Regions from separate parts of the Homo sapiens genome. Here region 1 is linked to region 2. The links are contacts of gene promoters, found by promoter capture Hi-C in blood cells and fetal thymus (Javierre and others, 2016). All regions are on one chromosome and are shown on one strand. The core of a region is centred on a gene start or on the middle of the fragment in contact, and the rest is flanking DNA. Distances in the headings are between cores, read along the strand shown.

The links. The method cuts DNA at HindIII sites, captures the fragments that hold promoters and counts their contacts. A CHiCAGO score of 5 or more calls a contact.
Region 1: a contact is called between a fragment that was not itself captured here and the fragment with the promoter of PRPH in region 2, in 1 of 17 cell types (erythroblasts). The highest score is 6.2, in erythroblasts.

Annotation. Positions count from the first base shown.
Region 1 is chr12:49,480,509-49,485,970 of GRCh38, reverse strand. SPATS2 (spermatogenesis associated serine rich 2) reads right to left here. Exons shown (of 14, transcript NM_023071.4): 4 at 1,302-1,381. Among named protein-coding and RNA genes, the nearest start is that of KCNH3, 56 kb to the left of the region's middle. The HindIII fragment of the contact is 1,516 bases long and covers 2,494-4,009 here.
Region 2 is chr12:49,291,234-49,296,514 of GRCh38, reverse strand. PRPH (peripherin) reads right to left here and starts at 1,368. Exons shown (of 9, transcript NM_006262.4): 1 at 770-1,368; 2 at 277-337; 3 at 1-83. The coding sequence starts at 1,314. TROAP-AS1 (TROAP and PRPH antisense RNA 1) reads left to right here. Exons shown (of 8, transcript NR_120449.1): 6 at 1-1,255; 7 at 1,980-2,067; 8 at 2,619-3,884. RefSeq lists enhancers at 436-1,352, 1,353-2,270, 2,350-3,112, 3,113-3,876. The HindIII fragment of the contact is 27,974 bases long and covers 1-5,281 here.

The DNA of each region.
Region 1 (5,462 bases), core at 2,002-4,501, 190 kb before region 2:
CCTGGCCAACATGACAAAACCTGTCTCTACTAAAAATATAAAAATTAGCCAGGCATGGTGGCAGATGCCTGTAATTCCAGCTACTCAGGAGGCTGGGGGATGAGAATCACTTGAACCCAGGAGGTGGAGGCTAAAGGGAGCCGAGACTGCGTCACTGCACTCCAGCCTGGGTGACAGAGTAAGACTCTGTCTCAAAAAAAAAAAAAAAAAAAAGAGAGCCCATAAAGCTTTTATGTTTTTCTCAGTACAGCTCGTTGACGGTTTCATTACTAAAACCACTTGGTTTTCTTCCAAAAGAATGCTCCTTAGATCTACTTCTGGCCAGGTGTGGTGACTATCCTAGCACTCTGGGAGGCTGAGGCGGGTGGATCACTTGAGGCCAGGAGTTTGCGATCACCCTGGCCAACAGGGAGAAACCCTGTCTCCACTACAAATACAAAAATTAGCTGGGCGTGATGATGCACGCCTGTAATCCCAGCTACTCAGGAGGCTGAGGCACAAGAATCACTTGAACCCAGGAGGCAGAGATTGCAGTGAGCTGAGATCGTGCCACTGCACTCCAACCTGGGTGACAGAGTGAGACTCTGTCTCGAAAAAACCCACAAAAGACCTATTTCGGCCGGGCATGGTGGCTCACGCTTGTAATCCCAGCACTTTGGGAGGCCCAGGTGGGCAGATTACGAGGTCAGGAGATCGAGGCCACGGCGAAACCCTGTCTCTACTAAAAATACAAAAAATTAGCCGGGCATGGTGGTGGGCGCCTGTAGTCCCAGCTACTTGGAGAGGCTGAGGCAGGAGAATGGCGCGAACCCGGAAGGCAGAGCTTGCAGTGAGCCCAGATCGGCCACTGCACTCCAGCCTGGGTGACAGTGCGAGACTCCGTCTCAAAAAAAAAAAAAAAAAGACCTATTTCTTGTCTTGGCTCTGAAGGCTCCTGGACTTAAGAATGCTCTTCAAGTACTTGGGAAGATCCTATTCGATTGTTCCTTAAGGAATGTTGCCAAGTGAGATACACTCAGCCACATAAATATTAATCAACTAATTAATACTGAATATCTTCAAAAGAATTTAGAATGAATATACATGGAGATAGGCAAAGAAAATGTTTGCATTTAATAGGTTCTGTTAATAGGTTCTGCGCAATCAGAACCTATTTATGGCCGTCACTCTCTGATATATAGTGGCATTGTTTTATTCTTAAAATTTCAGTCTCATAATGAGTTTGTGGTAGCCACTAGTCGTATTAGTACCTAAATTTTCCTATGACATTTAAGTTTACTATCCATAGTGACTAGTCTTACCTTCTCTTTCATGTTCTCAAAAGCTCCTCCCTGGGCCAGTACGGTATTGGACTGCAAATCAAAAATGAATCCTGATGAATCTGAAAGAATAAGGGAAAAATATATTCAACATGATCCAAATATAATCCATCCCTAAGACAGAAGGGCCAAGACTGGCTGCTTTCGTCCCATAAAACAATTAACAGCAACTTAGTTGCTATTTGGCAAATTCTGTTACATAGATAACATATAACTGCCTTTTGAATTAAACTTATAATACAGAAATTTAATTTTAATAAAAACTGTCACAGCTTGAGGTAAACACTAAATACATCAACCATATTAGACTGTCCTGTAATCCTTGATATCGTTGTTAATTATCCCACCTTAAGGCCTTCTAAAAATGTCACAAGTAAATAGCTCCCCATGGTAAAATTTAACACTAAAGAATCTGAAAATGTGAGTGGGATGGGAGCTTCTGTAGCATTAACAACACACAGTTATTTCCTCTTCTAGCCAGAACCATACATGTTATGTTTGTAGACTATAAACCCGTGAATACATTCATGTGTGTGTCCCTAATATAATGCTTGATGACGCAAGGCATCCAAGTTGTAGGTTATGGAAAAACAGTTCAATATGATTGATTACAAAAAAAGATTCTGGTTTCTCTGTACTTACAAAGAAAAAGGCTATGTGCAAATTTAATCAGTTTCTTTACCCCTATGTGATCAATAAATTACTTCAGCTTTAACACTCAATAGCTTTGTTTTAACCCAATAAGATAAAATCTCAGGAAATGGTTAGAGTGCTTTTCAAATTCTGATGTGCATACTTACCACCTAGGGAATCTTATGCTAAAATGTAGGTTGTGATTCAGCAGTCTGGCCTGTGGCAGATTTTTACTCCCAGGTGATAACAATATTACTGATCTCTGCACTGTACTTGGAAGTAGCTTAGGAGTTAGAATTTCAACAAGGCAAGTAAAAGGAAAAATGTTAAGAAAAGGGGTACAAAAAAACCACGGTAATACTCTAGTACACTTTCCAAATTATTTTGCTGTTATTACAGATATGTTTCAATTAAAGATTCTTTCATGGCTTAATCTTGAACCTTGAATTAATTTAGATTTAACTTTTGTTAATACCGGCCATTTCTAGACTGCTACTCAAATGAAAAATCGGGTAACACTTATACAAACAGTATTTAAGCTTCAGTTTTCTAGATGACTATATAATATGGTTAACTCCCAATTATCTTTATTAATTGAAAAGAGACACAGTCTACAAAAACGAAGATCTTATAGAACCAAAGCACTATTTAGAACCTTCTCAGAATTCCTATAGATCAGCCAAATGATATAACTCGAATGTTTTAATGTATCCTCCCCCAAAGAGGTATTAATGAGCAGTGGGAATGATATGAAGGACATCAATAATCCACTTATTAGTGAATCAAACCACCAATCTCTTTTAGGGAAAAGAGGGAACACAAAACAGCATTTTGGGTTCTATTACTAGCCTCTTATCTAGCTCTGTTTTTTTTTTTTTTTTCCTTTAACAACATACTAGATGACACAAACTGCAAGAAAAACAAAGGAAAGGCTGGGTGTGGTGGTTCACGCCTATAATCCGAACATTTTGGGAGGCCAAGGCAGGTGGATCGCTTGAGCCCAGAAGTTCAAGAGCAGCCTGGGCAATATGGTGAAACCCTGCCTCTATAAAAAGGAGAAAAATTAGCTGGGCATGGTGGCACTTGCCTGTAGCCCCAGCTAATTGGGAGGGTGAGGCGGGAAGACAGCTGGAGTCTGGCAGGTTGAGGCTGCAATGAGTCGTGAATGCACCACTGCATTCCAGCTGGGTGACAGAGAGAGATCCTGTCTCAAAAAACAAACAAAAAACAAAGGGTAGTTCTGCAAACACTCAATTATTGGCCAAAATAAATTAGTATAATTAGGGTTTATCTGGAATACTGTTAGGATAATGATTAAAAATATATAAAGCAGCTATTTCAGTCAAGATCCCAAAGAGGAAGCGAATGGCATACTCAAATTGGGCAATCTTAATAGAGTTTAATAATAGGAGTATTTTCAAAGGTGTTAGCAAAGAGTAGGGAAACCACCCAAGATAGGGCTGTACCTCTTGTTACTGTTTTTGCTGGCTTTTAAGCAATGTGCACTGCTACTTGAGACTTGAGTGTGAGGAGGAAGCAGTTACAGGAGCCAAAGACAGAAAGGGCCCTTTTATTTTTGTTTCATCTGGTATAGAAAGCGCCATCAGACAGTTGCTGTGACCTTTGGCCAAAGGACACACTCAGCCCACAGCTACCCCTCAGAGAAAGATTAGAGGAATAAAAGTCCCCTACCTTACTCTCCTCCCTTCCTCGGAATCTCCTGCCAATGCTGCCCAGTGGCCAAACTTAAGTAAGCCAGAGGGCATGGGAGGCACTGAGATGGTCTACATAGGTCAGGAGGGCACAAATGACAATTTTGCATTTATATTCTATGACATGAGGTCACCAAAAAGATAAAGCAATAATCTAACATCTTAATTTGTCTACTCACTAGCTGATACTGCCTTTTTAAACTTAAACCAACACCTCAAGTAGATTCAAAACCTTACTTTAATCAACTGGCACCTAAATGTCTCTTAGTATTATACAGAAAGTAATTTTTAATTCCCATCAATACTTAGTGATTTTTAAACTTATTTTTTCATGAAAAGAAAGCTTAAGATTTACCTAATTCTATTGGTAAGAAATAAGGCAGGATTTCATCTTTTTATTAATATTTAGCTGTGATAAGAGAGCATGTATTCTATCAGAAACACATTTTTAAGGAAAAAGTGCTGCTAAATATTCTCTAATCCTGGGTGTTCAGGTAAAAAAAAAATTCTCAGGCAAGATTCATAAAGAATATGAGGATGCCTAGGCCAGATGCAGTGGCTCACACCTGTAATCCCAGCACTTTGGGAGGCTGAGGCGGGCGGATCACTTGAGGTAAGGAGTTCGAGATCAGCAAACATGGTGAAACCCCGTCTCTACTAAAAATACAAAAATTAGCCAGGCATGGTGGCAGGCACCTGTAATTCCAGCTACTGGGGAGGCTGAAGCAGGAGAATTGCTTGAACCCGGGAGGCAGAGGTTGCAGTGAGCTGAGAATGAGCCACTGCACTCCAGCCTGGGCGACAGAGCAAGACTCCATCTCCAAAAAAAAAAAAAAAAAAAAAAAAAATGAGGAAGCCTTGAGCTTGTTGAGCTTTCTTATTTATTTCACTCTATCAGGAACCATTTCAGAAGTTTTTTTGGAATTATTTCTTTCTTTTTTTTCTGGAGACGGAGTCTCGCTCTGTTGCCCAGGCGGGGAGTACAGTGCTGTGATCTTGGCTCACTACAACCTCCGCTTCCCGGGTTCAAGCCATTCTTCTGCCTCAGCATTCCCAGTAGCTGGGATTACAGGCACGCGCTACCACGCCTGGCTAATTTTTGTATTTTTAGTAGAGACAGGGTTTCACCATGTTGGTCAGGCTGGTTGGAATTATTTCAAATAGCACACATTCAGGTATATTTGAGAAAAAGTATGTTATTTACAGTACAAATGACATATTTGTAAATACTACAGGTTTTGTTATTATTGTTTTTGCTGGCTTCAAAAATTAGGTAAAAGTTGTTTTTAGGCACTGAGAATGACATAGAAATAGCTGAGCCTGATTATTCCATGTATTAAATCAACCTTGAACAGGTGTCTTGACAAGCTTTAAAACACAGTCTCATTCTGCTGTTAATTTATAATTTAACCTGAAGATCATACTGTACTAAGTGTTTTAGAATTAATTTTGTTTAAAGTTCTGATTATATTTATACCCAGGGTGCATATTTATTTATTAAAAAAAAAAAACAGAAAACAACAAGTGTGGCAAGAATGTGGAAAAACTGGAATTCTGGGGCACTGCTAGTGGAAATGTAAAATGGTACAGCCCCAATAAAAACCACATGTTGGTTCCTTAAAAGATAAAACATAGAACTACCACATGATGCAGCAATTCTGCTTCTTGGTATACACACAAAAGAAATGTCACCAAGGTCTCTAAGAGGTGTTTTGTACATCCATGTACTGCTGTAGGCGTTGAGATACACTAGGATACAACGGTGAACAAGAAACGTTTCCTGCCCTCTTAGAGTTTT
Region 2 (5,281 bases), core at 119-2,618:
TTCTTGAGGAACTCAATCTCATCCATCAGAGACTCAATCTTGCGCTCTAGTTCCAGGCGGGACAGAGTGGCATCGTCCACGTCCTTCGAGGGGTGGCAGTGGAGGTTCAAGATAAGTTAGGGGCTGCGCAGACCAAGGAAGGACCAGGCCTTCCCTGTCTGCCTCAGGAGGCATCTGGGTTACCCCCTTCTCCCCGCGCCCACCGATGCCACCTCTGGATACTGAGATCGGGGGTAGCGGTGGGGAGGCTGAACTCGGAGAGGGGCTCGGACTCACCTTGCGGAAGAGCACGAGGTTGTGCTCCGCGTCCTCCCGCTTGCGCGTCTCCTCCTCCAACCTGACGGGAAGAGCGTGCAGAGGCTGAACTGCGGGGTCGCCGCCCAGCTCGCACCCCAGACCGCACGCCCCCCAGGATCCGGTTAGAGGCTGTTCTGCTGCCCAGGACTCTAAATGGAGGGCTGAGGCTGTCTAATGGAATTGCCCCGCATTGTCTCTAACGGACTGGGAGCTGAAAAGGGGGTTTCCTCATTACTCAGGGGAGGCACAGATACCCACTTCTCCCACCTCCCCAAACACTCAGAGCAAAGGGGTAGCGGGGGGCACTTGGAGCCCGTGGGCAGGGATGCTGCCCGCACACACCTGGGTTGGTAAGGGGAGCCACACCCTTGGGCTGCTGATGGAGAGGGGAAGCGAGGGGAGGCAAGAGCAGCCGCCTCGACGGCCGCTTCGACCTCGCCTCGACGGCAGCGGCCCAGCCCTGCCCCCTGACCTCTGCTTGAGCGCCGCCAGGTCCTCCGCCAGCCCGTCGCGCTCCACCTGCACCCGGTCACGCTCGCGGCCCAACAGCTCCAGCTCTCGCCGCAGCTCGCGCAGCTCCTGCTGGCACAGCTGGTCGGCGCGCGCCGGCTCCTGGCCCCGGGCTTGGCTCAGCTCCCCGCGCAGGGCCGCGTTCTGCTGCTCCAGAAAGCGTACCTTCTCGATGAAGTTGGCGAAGCGGTCGTTGAGCTCCTGCAGCTCCTGCTTCTCGTTGCTGCGCGTGGCCAGGAACTCCTGGTTGAGGGCCTCGGCCATGGAGAAGTCGAGGCGCTCCGAGGGCAGGCGCAGGAGGGCGCCCGCTCCCGCTCGGGGGCTACGGAAGCTGCCCAGGCGCACCGAGGAGCTCGGGGACGCGGAGCCCAGCAGGCGGCTGCTGGAGAAGCGGGAGCTGGACGAGTAGGAGAAGGCCCCGGGGGATAGTGAGGGCGGTGGACCGAAGGTACGGCGGTATGAGGTGGAGCTGAAGCCGGCCCGGAGGCCCGACGGGTGGTGGCTCATTGCGGCCAAGGATGGGCAGTCACCGTTCGCAGAGCTAGGCCGGGGGCTGGGAAGGAGCCGCAGACCGCTGCGAGGCGGCTTTATAGCCCTGCGGTCTCAGGGGGGGCACGGGCAGCTCCTCCCACTGGCCTGATGGCCCGCTGGAGGGGGGTTGTATGGGGAGGGGGATGCCCCACCCCTGCGGAACAGCAGGAGCGCCTTCCCCTCCCTTCCCTGGTTGCAGGCCTCTACCCACTTGATTGCCCCCTGTTGCCGCTGGGGTGGGGGTCACTTCCTCCCAACAAGCACCCAAAGCTAGAACCTAGGGTAGGAAGGCCTGACTTGAACTAGAGTCCCTGAAAATTGCGAGGTAGAAGGACCTGAAGTTAAAGGGCAGGCTTCTGGCACAGGAGTAGGGAGGAGGCCAGCTGGAGGGAGAGTTGACCTGGCTTAGGCCCCATAGCTAGTGCCTTGACTTGCCCCCTGAAGGCCAGGCTCTATTTTCACCTGCTGTCAGCTACCCCTCCTTCACCACACCCAGAGAGGAATAGGAGACAGGGGCGCAGAGGCAGATCGGGCTGGGGAAGAGCTACTCTCCCTAATCCCCAGGGCCCTGTGAAGGGCTGGTGCCTGGCGCCAGCTCTGCTGCTAATGGGCTGACCAGCCCCCCTCCCCCTCCCCTGAAGACGGCCCAGCAGAGGTTGTCTGCTGATGTTTCAGCCTTAAAGACACAGCCCCCAAACCTAGACCTACCCCGCAACAAGCCCCAATGAGGTGGGTACATCATAGGGGGCTGAGGGTGGCTGGACCCAGCTCTGGATCCCACTCGGGAGGGTCTGCCCCATGCCACGGGCTGGGCTAAGTGGGCCTTTTGTATTCTGTCTTGGTTTACTGGATTCTCCCTCCCCCCAACCCCACACCAATTGCTGCTCAGTCATGGGCTTTACAGGAACCAGAGTGATTCCTGAGGTAGGAAGGGGAGGGGGCTGAGGGGCAACAGCGGCTGCCAAGGCTGAGAGATGGATGGACTGGCAGGAGCTGGTTTCCAGTATTGATGAGTTGCAGGTACCAGGGATGGGTGGGGCTGGATGGGGAAGAGATGGGGAAAGAGAAAGTGCCCATCCCCAGCAGTCTGAAAGAGAGAAGGCCCCAGAACAGGTCCACAAACCTGCGCACGCAAACAGATGCATACACACAGCTTTGTATATCTATGCGCACACACACTACATACACACACATACACACACAATCACACATCCCACCACACCCTCCCCTACTCCAGAGTTAGCGAGAAGGCTGATATCTGGCCTTTGTATGTCAAACAGCTTCCAGAATGCAAGCACAACCTGCCCAGGAGTGGACAGAGGCAGCTCGGATGGTCTGCAGGAGCCGGGTTGCTGAGGTCTGCTGGGTTTGCCAGGAACCATAGGGCTGGGGCTGCTGCTGCTGCTGGGGACTCCAGCGCTGTCCTGTGAGACAGGTCTGCCTCAGATGGGACCTGAGGACAAGAGAGTGCATCTGGGGAAGCAGGTTTCAGGTTCCTGCCTGGATATCTGGCTGGGGGTAAGGAGGGCGGCTCCCTGGCTGGCCAGCTCCTCAGTATTGCAGGGCAGCAGCCCCCTCCCCCCTTTGTGCGTCCTGTGAGATGGGCCAGGGCCAACGCCCTGCTCACGTCCCTACCGCCTTCGTCTCCTTTCCAGGCCCCTCCTTCCTTCCGGGCCATTAGTCTCTCCCTGCACAGCTGCCAGTTCCTTCTCCTTGATGGGTCTGGTTTGGTTGCCAGGGGAGTGGGAAGCGGGAGGAAGGGAGAGATGGGACAGGACGAATAAATGACAGCTTGGCCTCCCCTAACTCCTGGGAATTGGGAGGGGTAGGGTCCCACCCGGGATAGGGCCGGGAGGCTTGGTGGGTGTGAGGAGGGGCTAGGGAAGCCTTGGTGCTTCCTGCCGCAGTCCTGGGCACTGAGCCCCAGCTGCTGTTGGCCTGGAGCCCCATCTATCCCGGATTTGGCCCCACCCTCCAGGAGCAGGGAGCCAGCTCTGCATCAGGAGAGGCGGGCAAGGCCTGGGGAGGACCAGCTCAGGCCCTGTCTACAGGGCACTAGTGGGGGACCCAAGCCTCTGAGAGTAGAGGCTGCTGGGGCTGCAGCTGGGCCTGGGGAGTTCCAGATGGAGTTCCCGTCCTCACCCTGCTTAAGGGCTCCGCTGGCCACCTACATGCCTCGGAGGAGAAGGGACAGAGGGCTGCCACAGCAGGGCTCTGGAGCTGTGGATCAGGCCTGGGTGGGGAACTGCCAGGCAGAAGAGGCTCCTCCCCTAAAGCAGAAGGAGCAGGCCAGCAACTCCAGGCGGAGCAAAGGTAGGCAAAGAGTCTGGGTTAAGAGCCGGGCTCTGGCATCCAGCTGCCACACTTCCCATCTGATCCACCACTCTGTTGTAGAATTTAGGCTCGTCACTACGTCCCTTCATGTCCCTCAAGAAAAGGGAGATAACTAACTGTAGCTTCTACCTCATAGTGTTGTTGGGAGGACTAAAGGAATAAATAAATACATGTGAAGTGCTTAGGACACACATCTTAAAGCCTGAAAATGGAAGCTGGTTTTATTATTGCTATTATTATTAACCTCCAGAGTGATAATGTCAGCCCCAAGAGCAGTGAGAGTCTGGGCTTCTTTTGGACTGTGCCCCTGGTTGCTGAAAGTAGTGCTTGGACCCAAGGCGGAAGAAGCCAAGTCCTCCCTGGCCTCATCCTCCCCTGGTGGACCGGGACTCTGGGCAGATGGTGCAGGTTCATTCATGGCTGCTCACCTTAATTAGCTGTGTGCTTTGGGTTTTCTGAGTGACTTAACCTCTGTTCACCCCATTTTCTTTCTTTCTTTCTTTCTCTCTTTCTTTCTTTTTTCTTCCTTTTTTTTTTTTTGAGACATAGTCTCGCTCTGTCGCCCAGGCTGGAGTGCAGTGGCACGATCTCAGCTCACTGCAAGCTCCGCCTCCCGGGTTCACGCCATTCTCCTGCCTCAGCCTCCTGAGTAGCTGGGATGACTGGCGCCTGCTACCACGCCCGGCTAATTTTTTCATATTTTTGGTAGAGACGGTGCTTCACCATGTTAGCTAGGATGGTCTCGATCTCCTGACCGTGATCCACCTGTCTCGGCCTCCCAAAGTGCTGGGATTACAGGCATAAGCCACCGCGCCTGGCCACCCCATTTTCTTTATCCACAAATGGGAATGATAATAACAGTACTTACCTCATGGTGTTGGGAGGATTAAACGAGTTACCCTCTGTAAAGCACTTGTGCTTGGCACCTAGTACATGCTGTAGAAGTATTTGCCAGTATTCTCATCGCTCCTCCTCCTCCTGCCTCCCTTGGCTGCTCTGATGAAGGCTGGAAGAGAAACAACTATTGCATGTGTTCAGGGGTTTGCAGGGAAGGTGAGTAACGAAGTTTAGGTTACTGGCAAGAGTGCTATTTTTAAATTAAATTAAATTAAATTTTTTTTGAGAGAGAGTCTTGCTCTGTTGCCCAGGCTGGAGTGCAGTGGCATGATCTCAGCTCACTGCAACCTCCACCTCCTGGGATCAAGCGATTCTCCTGCCTCAGCCTCCCGAGTAGCTGGGATTACAGGTACCTGCCACCATGCCTGGCTAATTTTTGTACTTTAGTAGAGACGGGGTTTCATTATGTAGGTCAAGCTGGTCTCGAACTCCTGATCTCAAATGGTCCGCCTGCCTCGGCCTCCCAAAGAGCTGGGATTACAGGCGTGAGCCACCACGCCTGGCCAAGAGTGCTATTAAATGTCAGGCCACGGGCTCAAAGCTGGATTAGGAGGGCATGTAGGCAAGAGAGAGTGGGAGATTGGGAGAGTAAAGAGATCCATGGCTGGCCAAAGAACAGTCATAGAACAAAGACATGCCAGTGGAGCACAGTGGTTTACGCCTGTAATCCCAGCACTTTGGGAGGCTGAGGCGGGCGGATCACAAGGTCAGG